Regions from separate parts of the Homo sapiens genome. Here region 2 is linked to region 1. The links are contacts of gene promoters, found by promoter capture Hi-C in human tissues and cell types (Jung and others, 2019). All regions are on one chromosome and are shown on one strand. Each heading gives the region's core, a stretch centred on a gene start or on the middle of the fragment in contact. The rest is flanking DNA. Distances are from core to core; before and after follow the strand shown. Region 1 holds the start of SGK3 (serum/glucocorticoid regulated kinase family member 3). Region 2 holds the start of SNHG6 (small nucleolar RNA host gene 6).

The links. The method cuts DNA at HindIII sites, captures the fragments that hold promoters and counts their contacts. A contact is called where the count stands out against the background at its distance.
Region 2: a contact is called between a fragment that was not itself captured here and the fragment with the promoter of SGK3 in region 1, in 1 of the 25 tissues and cell types used here (thymus).

What each region holds. Positions count from the first base shown.
Region 1 is chr8:66,709,673-66,716,537 of GRCh38, reverse strand. SGK3 (serum/glucocorticoid regulated kinase family member 3) reads right to left here and starts at 3,757. Exons shown (of 17, transcript NM_001033578.3): 1 at 3,705-3,757. All of the region lies in intron 3 of C8orf44-SGK3 (C8orf44-SGK3 readthrough), which reads right to left. RefSeq lists a silencer at 3,579-4,048. The HindIII fragment of the contact is 13,282 bases long and covers 1-6,865 here.
Region 2 is chr8:66,923,513-66,930,341 of GRCh38, reverse strand. SNHG6 (small nucleolar RNA host gene 6) reads left to right here and starts at 4,801. Exons shown (of 4, transcript NR_152600.1): 1 at 4,801-4,905. It also overlaps a transcript of MCMDC2 not described here. RefSeq lists a silencer at 4,630-4,829 and an enhancer at 3,822-5,021. The HindIII fragment of the contact is 7,268 bases long and covers 1,449-6,829 here.

The sequences.
Region 1 (6,865 bases), core at 2,508-5,007:
TAGCGTAATAGAAGAACAGTGGCCACCAGGAGGTGAACTTAGGCAGGTTTTCAGGACTTTGTCCAATTTCTCAAGTCCTTTACTATTTCTCCAAAGGCAAGGATACTGCACACTGCCCTAATTCCCTTTGAAAACCCTCTAGCTCAGCTTCAGACAGCCAATACAATTTTACTGGGTGACGCTTTGAATTGGCCTTCAACATCTGATTTCCACATTGTCTTCCTCGGCAATGACAACTGAAAGTTAGCATTGAGTTAAAACTACTTTGACGTGAACTACAAGATGCGGAAGTAGCACCTCTTAGATTTACCACTTTTCTCCATGATACTGGGCAGGGGAGAGTGAAATGAGAGCAAAGTCTCCACCATGAGAAATGGAAAAGGTAAAGGAAAACAGAGACACTGAGTCGCTTAAAATAATATGGGAGCTGTTACATCTGTCAGGAATAACATGTTACATAAGTTGAGTTTCATGAATCAGCAGTTTAGTCAGTAATTTACATTAATTTTTTTCAAAAAGAGAAAACATGAGAACTGGAAAAGGTAAAGTGGTTTCTGAAACAAGACAGGTTTCAAAGGTATTTTATTCCACTCCCACACAGAAGAACGTTGACAGGCAGATGACTCAGTCTGGCTTCATTAAGGGTTTCTTACTGCCTAATACACCTCATGGGAAAGGCCATCCCATCTCTCATATCTCCCTGATAACTCTTCTCAATTCCTCCTGCCAGGTAATGGCCATATTATCCCCTCTAATTGAAGGTTATCCACCTGGAAATCACATACTTTAGGTACCAAGGGCTATACTTAAAGCATATAAATAGTTGAGGAATTTTGTGTGTGTTTTTAAAGACCCTTTATGCTAAATTCATTGCAACATTTCAATAAAACACATAGTTTTATTTCAAAAATATTTACAATACCTATGATCATTGAGTTTGAACTTGATCATAAATCTAAGTAGTTTAGAAAGATAAGAAAGCTGTGGCCAGGCACGGTGGCTCACGCCTGTAATCCCAACACTTTGGGAGGCCAAGGCAGGCTGATCATGTCAGGGGTTTGATAATAGCCTGGCCAACATGGTGAAACCCTGTCTCTACTAAAAACACAAAAATTAGCCAGGTATGGGGGCATGCACCTGTAGCCCCAGCTACTCGGGAGGCTGAGGCAGGAGAATCGCTTGAACCCGGGAGGCGGAGGTTGCAGTGAGCCTAGGCTGCGCCATTGCACTCCAGCCTGGGCAACAGAGCAAGACTCTGTCTCAAAAAAAAAACAAAGAAAGAAAGAAAGAAAGCAAGCTGTCAACATAAACATAAATACCATGTGTCCGTTCTAAACTCTCAAAACTAGAGAAAAAAGGTAGGATGAAAAAAATACCCAACCTATTTTCTTTTTCAAAAACCAGAGGTGGCAAATCTTAAGAAATAAGTCCAAAGGGATTCCCATCCTTTTTGTAGAAAATGTGCTGTATTAGATACTGTCTGAAATGAGAGAGGCATTGGATTAGGCCTGGAAATCTCTCAGGCATAAATCAATTACTACGGTATTTTGAGAGACATGTTTTGAAAGAGCAAGATATCTGAAGCCATTTGGAGTCATTCATTCCACAGATGTTTATTACAGGCCTGCACGTGCCAGGCACTGTCCACACACCTGCCCTCCATTCAAGCTCTGCCTCTCACCTGCTGTGCAATCCAGGCTAAAGCACTTTAACATTTCCATGCCTCAGTTTCTTCATCTGTAAAAACAGGTAATAAAAAGTAATTAAGAGATCAACCATACAAGATCTCTCTGAAAGGTAAAGGAGTATGTCTGGAAGCACTTTGTAAGCCATGAAAATGCTAGGGGTCATCCGACTAAACTGAATTCACAAATGACACTAATGCCTGTTGTGTCATAAATTATTAATATATCAGAGGAACATGAGCCTTCTTGCTTCAAGAGACACTTCATAATCCTATTAAATAAGGCTTATCGGCTCACTTAATCATCTCTCTGAAAAGTTAAATATATGAGAGAGAGATAAGGGAGGGGGGCACAGAAAGGGAGTGAGGGAGTCAGAAAGCTAGTCTGATGTGCAGATTTTGACATTACATTCATAGTCACAATAACAAGAATCATGTCTATCTTAGTCACCACATTGGGTCTCTAATGGTGCACATTTGAAGAGGGCATGTTATTCTGAAAAAATATTCTCTGCATATCTGCAAATCACAAAAGGTACACCTATGAGGCTGACCTACCAATTCAATGTTTCCAAGAGCAAATAGCAGTAAAATTACAAAACGTTATTTGTTATGTTGATGTGTGCAAACAAAAATGTTCTATTTTATAGTACATTTCAAGTTCAATCTGACCCTCATATCTAAACTATGTCATATAAATAATGTCATATAAACAGTGTCGAACAGATCAGGAACAAAGCTCTTTTCAAAAACAAAAGTAGGCTCCATGCAGTGGCAGTTAAAGAAGGGGAAGTTCTGGTGTCTCCAGAGTTAGCCGATGGGCACAACGGCAGTTGAAAGAGACCATGTTACACAAGTCATTCAGGTTCTGGCCAACATCTGCTTTGAACAGGTCGCATTCCCAGGAGCTCCAGGCTCCCTTACCCCAGGGAAATGCTGGGGTGGTGGCTTGTCTTACAGAAGTGGTAGCCAAGGGGACCAGAAGGCACACCCGGTGCTAAAACATGCCTAAAACTTCCTCTAATGTTTACAGCTCTTCCAATGACATTTGGGGAACTAAAGTATGGATAGCCTCTTCATTGCTAGAACCGCTATAATATGATAAGTTAAGAATTTGATTTAATATTTATAAAGAACTTAGAAAGAGCCCAGCGCATAGTAAGGGCTATGTAAGTGTTTGGTAAATAAAAAAAGGCACCTCCCAGATTGGCTGGGTGAAGTCTCAATCTGGTGAGAAGGGAGAGAATCAAAATACACAACAGTCTATTTTTCACTTTGACAAAAGATTTAGAAATTACAGTGCTCTGTATTTATTTTGCACCCAAGTGCACACTAAGTAGTCTCTGGTGCAGGACTGAAATTCTACTCATGGTTCAGAAGTCACTGTGCACAACTCAATGAAAGCGTTTTAAGTTTCAAGAGATGATTCCTTTCTCTTTTCTCTTTCCAAGTAACGATGACTAAAAATGACAGAATCTAAAAATCTCAAAGCACTTCTTGTGGGTACATTCCAAAGCTAAAACTGTGAGAATTAATAGGGCCAGATTCACTTGAAGAGACGTAAGGGTTCAAATTACAGAGAACTTAAAAGACGCAACGTATTAAGGTCTTTTACTACAGATCCGCTGACAACAGGTTAAACGATTCCATCCACCCCACTCTGGCGGCTGCCCCCTCCCCGACCCTCGCAGGTGACCTGCACCCACTTTCGACCTCAGATAGGGTCTCCCTGCTCGGCGTTCCCAGTTCCTCCAGGCTCGGCGGCTGCGTGGGGGTTAACAAGGTCCAGCCACCGACGCCCCTTGGGCGTTTAGGAATCTCGAGGCAGGATCTGAATTCACCTCGTGGAAACAAAGACCACAAACTCTCCGGGAGCCGGGGGCTGGGCGGAGGTACGGCTTTTTCCGAGGACAGGCAGCGGCCGAGGCCCGGGCAGCCCTCGCCCCGCCCCGTCTCCTCCCGCCCCGGGCCGCCGTCGGAGTCCCGGGCGCGCGGACCCTCCCGCCGGCCCCGCACCTACCTGGCCCCGCGGTGCTGCTCCCGGCGCGGCGGGCGCGGAGCCGAACGCACTGCGCTTCCTCCTTCCCGGCAGGGCCGCCGGGCGCCGGCGTTTCCTCCTTGACGCGTCACGGCCGCTGGCGGCTCCTCCCGCGGAGCGCGCGGGAGGCCGAGGACAGCCGGGGAAGGCGCCGGATCCCAGCAGAGCGGCGCGAGCGGCGGGCCGGGGGCAGCCCGTGCGGGGAGGGGCTGCAGGCTGCGTCCCGCTCAGGCCTCCGAGGAAACCCGCGCTCCTCTCTCTTCCCCGAGGACCCCCGCGAAAGGCCGGGCCACGGTGCACCGTCTGCCCCCGTCACGCGCTGTGCAAAGTTCAAGAGGACACAGTGGGTCCTGTCTGGAGTCACAGACTCTGGTGTTTCCCTCTGCTCCGCCCGCAGTGGCCGCTACCCTGGGGCCCAAGACCGGCGCGGGCCAGAGCGCCGGGGCCCAACAGAGATGACCTGGTGTGTGCAGGGATCAGGACCCCCCGGGTGGGCCCGTGGTGTTGGGGGGGTTGGCTTGGTGTAAACTGGAAACTCAGAGGAGTGAATTAAATATCCAAATAATTGAGAACAACTGTGATTCATTTAGCATTATTTGGACAGTTTTCCACTTTTGTCATTAGCAGAGTTACGGCCCTTGTGTTTATAAACAGTCGAGAACTTTCACAAATTGGCAGATCCTGTGTGCAGAGAAATTTCCTTTCCACACATCTTTTTAGATCTACTGACTCTTTTTTTTATTCCCATTAATCTCCAAGTCAGCTGAGTGCACACTTTACAGCTCCTTATTACTCATTCTTGAATTACAGAAGCTGCGTTTTAGATCTGTTTATCTCTTTTAACAGATAGAGAAGCTGAGTGGAGAACTAAGAATTACATGGTTCAATGGATGTGGAGTCAAGTGGTTAAGATTTTGAAGTAGAGTGGGTTGTTTTCTTCGTCCCACAACACTACTGTAATTTAGGTCTTATCAGATATCACTTGAAGATAGACTCAGACAAGTACTTAAAGATTCCCATGTGCATATCATGCCTTAGATTTTGAGACAATGATTTGTACTTTAGATCATATGATTCCAGAGAATTTGCCACAAATCTATGAACAAATAAACTGCCAAAGGTTATTAGAGGAACTGGGATCTATGTGTGACTTCCCTAAATTCAGAAGACATTTCCTCATGTTTTAAAATGATATTCAAAGATTTAGCCCCACAAGTATGGGTTAGGACATTCATTTTTAATGTCAATAACCACAATGTGGCCTCTCTTTAAAAAGTGGATTGTGAATCCAAATACTTTTTGTACTTCAGTAATCCTACAGAACTTTCTAAACAGTAGTTTTCAGAAATGAATATAAGAATGCAGTAGATACAAAACAATACATTGCCGGTGGTCCTTTATATGTTTTACTGTGGTCCACAAAGCAATCCACATACATTAGAGGAGTTCTTCCCTTGTAACAAAATCAACAAGTGATGAGTGTATCTCTTAATTAAAGCCATATTCACAGTGCTGAAGATTTCTCAGACAAAAGGAAGTTCTGTGTCAATAAACTCCAAGTGGAATAACATCATTCTCACTTTAGAGACAAATACCTGGCTATCACCACATCTTGACTTTTTAAAAAAATAAACATCTGGGAACCATTACATTTCTAGATAAATTTGTCCTATTGTGAAGAACACACACACACACACACACACACACACACACACACACACACACAGAGATCACCTCCCACAAACATTTTATGTATTTTCTTTTTTTTTTTGAGACGAGACGGTCTCACTGTGTTGCCCAGGCTGGGTTCATTTGATCAACAGACAACATGTTAGGCATTTTGCCTTTACAATCTGAGAGCTGCAATTTAATAGCTAGATTTTGCAAAAAGCTAGAGGAGGTAAATATATTCACAAACTACTAAGGACTTTTTCACTGTAATTAAATTAGTTTTTTTTTTTTTTTTTTTTTTTGAGATGGAGTCTCACTTTTGTTGCCCAGGCTGGAGTGCAATGGCACAATCTCAGGTCATTCCAACCTCCTCCAACTTCCGGTTTCAAGCGATTCTCCTGCGTCAGCCTCCCGAGTAGCTGTGATTACAGGTGCCTGCCACCACGCCCAGCTAATGTTTTGTATCTTTAGTAGAGACAGATTTTCGCCATGTTGGCCAGGATGGTCTTGAACGCCTGACCTCAGGTGAGCCACCCGCCTTGGCCTCCCAAAGTGCTGGGATTACAGGCGTGAGCCACCATGCCCAGTCTAAAATTGGTTTTAAGGGCAAATTTTAAGGCTGATCACTTTGTTGTTGTTGTTGTTGTTGTTTTGGTTTTTTTTTTTTTTTTTGAGACAGGGTCTCACTCTGTCACCCAGACTGGAGTGCAGTGGCGTGATCTCGGCTGACCGCAACCTCTGCCTCCCAGGCTCAAGCAATTCTCCTGCCTCAGCCTCCCCAGTAGCTGGGATTACAAGTGTGCGCCACCACGCCCGGCTAATTTTTGTATTTTTAGTAGAGACAGGGTTTCACCATGTTGGCCAGGCTGGTCTTGAACTCCTGACCTCAAATGATCCACCTGCTTCAGCCTCCCAAAGTGCTGGGATTACAGGCTTCAGCCACCGCACCTGGCTAAGGCTGATCACTTTGATTAATTGTGTTCACCTATTGATAGAGATATAGGTTATATCCCCATTTTCTGTTATGTTTCCAAGTTTAGACTGTAAAAAAAAAAGTTGTTGAATGTTCAGCTAAATGTCTAGCTGATGTTTATACCTTTATGAAATATTTCATGTAAATAAATTTTAAAAATAGAGCTTTTTATCAGACTATGGGTCCCAATACTTTCTTTGAAAATATGATTCTGTTCATTCAGATAGAGCAAATATTTTGTTCATCTGTTTTATCTATAGTGTAGAGATTTTGAACACAAGCTTTGGAATTGGACAGACCCAGGTTTAACTCCTGGTTTGCCACTTCCTACTTTGGGCAAATTGTTTCACTTCTCTGAGCACCGGTTTCATCAGTAACCTGGGGATAATAGTGCTTTTTCCTCTTCAGTAAAACGGAGATAATAGTGCTAATCTCATGAAATTGCTATGAGGATCAAATGAATTTAGTAGAATGCCTGGAACATAATACCAAGTGACTG
Region 2 (6,829 bases), core at 3,833-6,332, 210 kb before region 1:
TCCCTTGATGCACAAAATTTTTTAATTTGATGAAGTACAATTTATTTTTCCTTTTGTTGCCTGTGCTTTCGGTGTTATAGCCAAAAAATCACTGCCAGATCCAGTGTCATGAAGATTGTCCCCCATGTTTTCTTGTAGAATTTTATAGTTTTAACTCCTAAATTTAGGTCTTTGATTCATTTTGAGTTTTTTTAAAATATAATATCGGATAAAGGTCCAACTTCTTTATTTTATTTTGTTTTATTTTTTTGCATTGGATATCCAGTTTTCCCAGCACCATTTGTTGGAAAGTCTGTCCTTTCCACATAGATGGTACTGGCACCCATGCCAAAAATCAATTGGCCATACACACAAGTGAATATTTTAAAAGTACAATGGGAAATGATGGACACTAGTAATCAAGGCTTCTAGGCAACTCTGAGTCTCTAGATTAACTTTCTTAAGCCCTTTTGGAGATGATAGACTCGAAAGGGAAAAGGGAGTTCTAAATTCCAAAAATCCCTTTACTAACAGCAAAACATAAAGTAGTGAACATTAAACTTTGCATTTTTCCAACAAGAAACTATAGGAAAAAAAGTTTTGCATAGGAAGAGGAGACTCAAGAAATGAACTCAAAGAAGAGAGGAAGTCAAGGAAGTCTTCAATAGAGACGAAAAAATACAAAGGCTTCAACAGAAAAAGAGAGAGAGGAAGAGGAAGAGGAGAAGGAAGAGAGGAGAAGGAGGAAGAGGAAGAAGAGGAGGAGGAGGAAGTGGAGGAGGAGGAAGAAGAAGAGGAGGAGGAAGAAGAGGAGGAGGAGAAGAGGAAGAGGAAGAAGACAGGGGCCTGGTGTAGTGGCTCACATCTGTAATCCCAGCATTTCGGGAGGCCAAGGCAGGCGGATCACTTGAGGCAAGGAGTTTGAGCCCAGCCTGGACAACATGGTGAAACCCCATGTCTACTAAAAATACAAAAATTAGCCAGGCTTCATGGCAGGCGCCTGTAGTCCCAGCTACTCGGGAGGCTGAGGCAGGAGAATTGCTTAAACCCAGGAGGCAGAGGTTGCAGTGAGCTGAGATCCTGCCACTGCACTCCAGCCTGGGCAACAGTGCGAGACTCTGTCTCAAAAAACAAACAAACAAACAAAAAACAGAAAAAAAAATTGTGGTATACTCAGATAAGGGAATACCATTCAGCAATAAAAAGGAATTAACTATTGTAACACACAACCACATGGATGAATCTCAAAATAATTATGCTGAGTGAAAGCAGCCAGACCAAAACACAGTGCATACTGGCCCATCAAATTGTATAGATTAAATATGTGCAGTTTTTTGTATGTCAATAATACCTCAATAACACTGTAAATAAAGTATATTCTGAATGATTTCATTTAAACTAGTTATAGAAAAAGCAAATTGATCTATAGTGACAGAAAACAAATCAGTGGTTCCCTGGTGCAGTTGAGGGGAGTGATGTGAGGGTGACTTTTGGATTAGGGAATGAAGAAATGTTTAGGGATGATGAATATGCTGATTATTTTGAATGTGGTGATGGTTTCACAGGTGATGGTTTCACATATGTCAAAACTTATCTGATTTTTCATTTTCAATATGTGCAGTTTTTGTATGTCAATAAAGCTATGCTAAAGAAAAGCTATTTTTGCTTTTGTAACAGAAGTGGAACTGGAAATCTGTACCCATTCTTTGTCAGAATTCCTCTATCTTTCATCATATCCTTGTAATCTTCTCTCACTTTGAATAGTAATGAGAACTGAGCTCATGGATTCACAGCAATACGCTCACACTTTAAAGTTTCCCCTGTGTGCAGGCACTATTAGCAGCCCACCAAACAGGCGTCTCCCTTCCCTTTCTGTCAGAGTCCACTTTCCCATATTATAAGCTGATAATGCCTGGACTTGTAACCCAATCAAGGCCAGTGAGACCTGAAAACAAGTCTACTGTGGGCATTCTGGGGAAGATTTTCCAACCTGGTTAAAAGAGAAACATGTGAAATGTCCCTCCTTCCCACCTTTGAATGTTGTTATATGAAGACATAGCTGGGTGCAGTGACTCACGCCTGTAACCCAGCACTTTGGGAGGCCAGGGCAGGTGGATCACTTGAGGTCAGGAGTTCGAGACCAGCCTGGTCAACATGATAAAACCCCATCTCTACTAAAAATACAAAAATTAGCTGGGTGTGGCGGGAGGCACCTGTAATCCCAGCTACTCTGGAGGCTGAGGCAGGAGAATAGCTTGAACCCAGGAGGTAGAGGTTGCAGTGAGCCAAGATCCTGCCACTGCACGCCAGCCTGGGCAACAGAGCAAGACTGTCTCAAAAAAAAAAAAAAAAAGAAAAAAGATATGATGTTTACAGCTATGGGAGGCTTTTTGCAACTATGAAGGGAAAACCAAGAATCTCAGAGAATTCAACCAGCAACCCTGACAGTGTTTTCCTGCTAAATCAATCAACCCGAGAGCCATCTACCTCTGGATTTCTTGTAATATAGAATAATATACTCCTCATTTTCCAGAAGCTACTTTAGTTGCATATTTTGTTACTTGCAGTTGAAAACATACATTTAATGACATTATTAATTAAAGTAACTGACATAAGATGATAACCTGAAATGGGTGGCTGCACAGTTTTGGCAACATCTAAATTTTAGTCAAGATATTTAATTATATCCTTTCTGAAGAAAGAACATAGTAAGTCAATAAGGCAGTGGCCCCTTCCTAATCTGTCCACCCGGCTCAGCTATTTCTTCCCAGTAGAGGTCAATGAATGCCCTGTGAATGCCTGCAGGAGACAACACAAAGCTGTTAGCAACGCAGGAGCTATCCTCTCTGGAACCATGGCAGGGGAATTGTCCATGTTTGCCTCCAGTTATCATATGGCCCTGCACTCAGTGACACCAAGAACTTGCCTAAATTGTTGCCTTAGCATCTATGGATTTAATGTCCAAACTAACTCTCACTTATACCTTTTAGTAATGGTGGCTCCCACAGCTTCCCCTTCACACTGGAGGTGACAGCCCAGGTTGCAAAATTAGGTTGTGGAAGCAACATCCAGCCAGGAATCTTAGTCCAAGAAGCAGGTTGAGGTCCATGTCACTACTTAACAGGAGAAACGGCTTCCATTTGGAGGCCCAAGCAAAGATTTTTAAGCTCCTGTAAAATACTTTGCAATCCTTTGTTAAAGGAGGTACAATCACAATTTGTTTTGCTAGGCTTACTAGGCTTAGATATTCATACTCTATGTTACTTGAGACAAATTGAAATTTTGTACCGGATTTTGTATTCGTTTCTTAGATTTCCGGTGTCTAAAGGAGAGATTGGCCAGGCGCTGTGGCTCATGCCTGTAATCCCAGCACTTTGAGAAGCCAAGTCGAGAGGATAGCTTAAGGCCAGGAGTTGGAGGCCAGCCTGGCCAACATAGTGAGACCCCCGCATTTCTACGAAACGTTTTAAAAATTAGCAGGGCATGGTGGTGAGCATTTAGCTACTCAAGACTGAGGTGGGAGAATCTCTTGAGGATCCTAGAAGATGGAAGCTGCTATGAGCCATGACTGCACTACTGCACTCCAGGCTGAGCAACAGAGGGAGACCCTGTCTCTAAAAACAAAACCAACCAACCAAAACACAAAAACAAATTGGCCGGGCGCAGTGGCTCACACCTGTAATTCCAGCACTTTGGGAGGCCGAGGCAGGCAGATCACGAGGTAAGGAGATGGAGTCCATCCTGGCTAACACGGTGAAACCCCGGATCTACTGAAAATACAACAAAATTAGCTGGGCGTGGTGGCGGGCGTCTGTAGTCCCAGCTACTCGAGAGGCTGAGGCAGAAGAATGGCGTGAACCCGGGAGGCGGAGCTTGCAGTGAGCTGAAATCGAGCCACTGCACTCCAGCCTGGGCGACAGAGAGAGACTCCGCCTCAAAACAAAACAAAAGCCAAAAATATTAAGGAGAGATGACCTATCTTTAAGTGAGTAGATTGTTTAATCATATGCTTTCATGTGTATTCTTTCTGGCAACAAGATCATAAGCCTTTCTGCTCCAGCATCAAGCCCAGTGCTTTGCAGTCAGGATTCTATAATACAATGAGAAAAACAGAAGTAATAAGACGTGAAAATCAACAGCAAATTATAACATGTTCATAAACAAGGTAGGTAACTGCTTTATGAATGCTATATATATGTTTTTTGGTTTGTTTGTTTGTTTTGAGACGGAGCCTTACCCAGGCTAGAGTGCAGTGGCGCGATCTTGGCTCACTGCAACCTCCGCTGCCCGGGTTCAAGCGATTTCTCGTGCCTCAGCTTCCGGGTAGCTGGGACTACAGGCACGCGTCACCACAATCGGCCAATTTTTTTGTATTTTTAGTAGAGATGGGGGTTTCACCATGTTGGCCAGGCTGGTCTCGAACTCCTGACATCGGGTGATCCTCCCGCCTAGGCCTCCCAAAGGGCTGGGATTACAGGCTTGAGCCACCGCGCCCGGCCTTTTAGGGCATATTCTGCTCGTTTGCATCCACTGCAAACTGGTAAATTAAACATTGACTAGCTCTAGCAGAGTTACTCCTGAGCCTGAAAAGCCCCTGCGGGAAGTCACAAAGCCCCCACATAAACTTGCTGTGTGGCACACAGCGTCGCCGCACCGCGCAACCAGGGAAGAGGGCTAAGGTGCGGGTCTCATCTCCCCTCCGCCCCCTCCCCAGAGCCGGTGCACTCAGCCCCCCTTCGCACCCGCGGAGGGGCGGGGCCGCGTACCGGAAGAGGCGGGGCCACCGGAGTGCCTAAGAGCTGTCTTCCGATGTCGCTCTTCCTTTCCCGCGCGACCGGCGAGGGAGGAAGAAGCGCGAAGAGCCGTTAGTCATGCCGGTGTGGTGGCGGCGGCGGAGACTGCGGGCCCGTAGCTGGGCTCTGCGAGGTGAGAGTGATCGCGGTCTTAGGTCCAACTCCTCTACGTGCCGGGTTCCTCCGCCATATGGGTGCCCAGCGCGGCCCCTGTCCCTTCCCCGGGCGCAGCGGAGCGGGCGGCTGCTGCGTAGGCCAAAAGGCTACGCTCCCGGTGCCCCCAAGGCCCACGAGCTTTCCCCACAAGCCATTTGCGCAGTCGCGTTTTGTGAGTAACCACCTGGAAGGCTTAGCTGACCTTTCTCCGTCAACACCGGTTCGCTGTCCTCTGCTCAGAAACTGGGCAAGGGCCTTCTGACTTAAGGAGGTGCCTGCAAGGGACCGTCGGGAGGCTTCGTGCTCCACCCGGTCTTGGCCAGATCTCTCTTGTGTCCCCAGCAAAGTTGTGCGTGCGGCCTTGGCGGTTTCAGGCTCTTAGGCAGCTTGTTTTCCTTAAAAGGGAGCGTTTTATAAATAGGAAGGTGATTATCCCTTAGGTGTCAGGACGACCCTTAGTTAACCGTACTTTGTGAGTGGCTTTGAAACTGTAATGAGCGCAGTTTACTGAGTCATTACTAGTCTCGACCCATTCGTAGAGCTAGTCAGTATTTGTTCCTGGACCTTCCTTCGTAATACGCGCTAAAGTCAAGGCATGGAGGTTGGAGAACAACACGTGCAAGTATAGGAGGCCCTTAGGCTAAATGCCTGCTACACACGGAGATGCTTGTATTTACATAGAGATGTGTATTTCTGGACATAATACAGAAGAAACCGGTCAGCAACTGGGAGGCTGGGAAAACCTGTTAGCTATTCAGAAACTTTTTTTTTTTTTTTTTTGAGCCAGAGTCTGTTCTGTCGCCCAGGGTGGAGTGCAGTGACGCGATCTTGGCTCACTGAATCCTCCACCTCCCGGGGTTCAAGCAGTTCTCTGCCTCAGCCTCCCGAGTAGCTGGGATTACAGGCGCCTGCCACCACGCCCGGCTAATTTTTGTATTTCTAGTAGAGACGGGGTTTCACCATCTGGCCAGGCTGGTCTTGAACTCCTGACCAGCCTGACCACTCGTGATCCACCCGCCTAGGCCTCTCAAAGTGCTGGGATTATAGGCGTGAGTTACCGCGCCCGGCCATAGAAACAAATTTTAAAATTTCATCAGTGAGACTTCGTATAGGTTTTTTTTTTTCTTCAAATTTGAAATGCATTGCTTCGTCTGAAATAATCATTAACTGTCAAGAAGACGAATGTCATGGCTTATCCTTGAAATATTTTAGGTATTATTATTTTTGAGGCTTCAGTAGCTTGAATTCTGTTTTCACTGGTAAGTGCTGGGACTTCTAAAAATTTTCAAACTAAATAATTGATAAAATTGGTAGTGCAGGAAAGTTCTGAAGCATAATACAAAAGAATCCACCGATACATTTGAGAACTATAATATTACCAATACTAGGGTATCTATTGTTTACATTTCCCTGCTTCCTATTCATAGGTACCCACCATTTGGAATTTTGTGCCCATCAGTCTTTTGGGTTTTGTGGGGGAGGGGGGTGGTGTGGATAGCTTTGTGGGGTTTTTTGTTGCTTTTTTGAGATGGATTCTCATTCCTGTCGTGCAGGCTGGAGTGCAGTGGCGCGATGTCAGCACACTGCAACCTCCATCTCCCAGGTTCAAGCGATTCTCCTTCCTCAGCCTCCCGAGTAGCTAGGATTACAGGCACCCACCATCATGCCCAGTTAATTATTGTATTTTTAGTGGAGATGGGGTTTGGCCAGGCTGGTCTAGAACTCCTGACCTCAGGTGATCCACCCGCCCCGACCCCACAAAGTGCTAGGATTACAGGCGGGAGACACCGTGTCCGGCCCATTTTTTAAGCTTTGTAAAGACAGGATTATGCATGTAGTTGTCTGTAGTTCCTGTGAATCATAATATTAAACTGAAACTTTTTTTGTTTCAGTTAATTTTT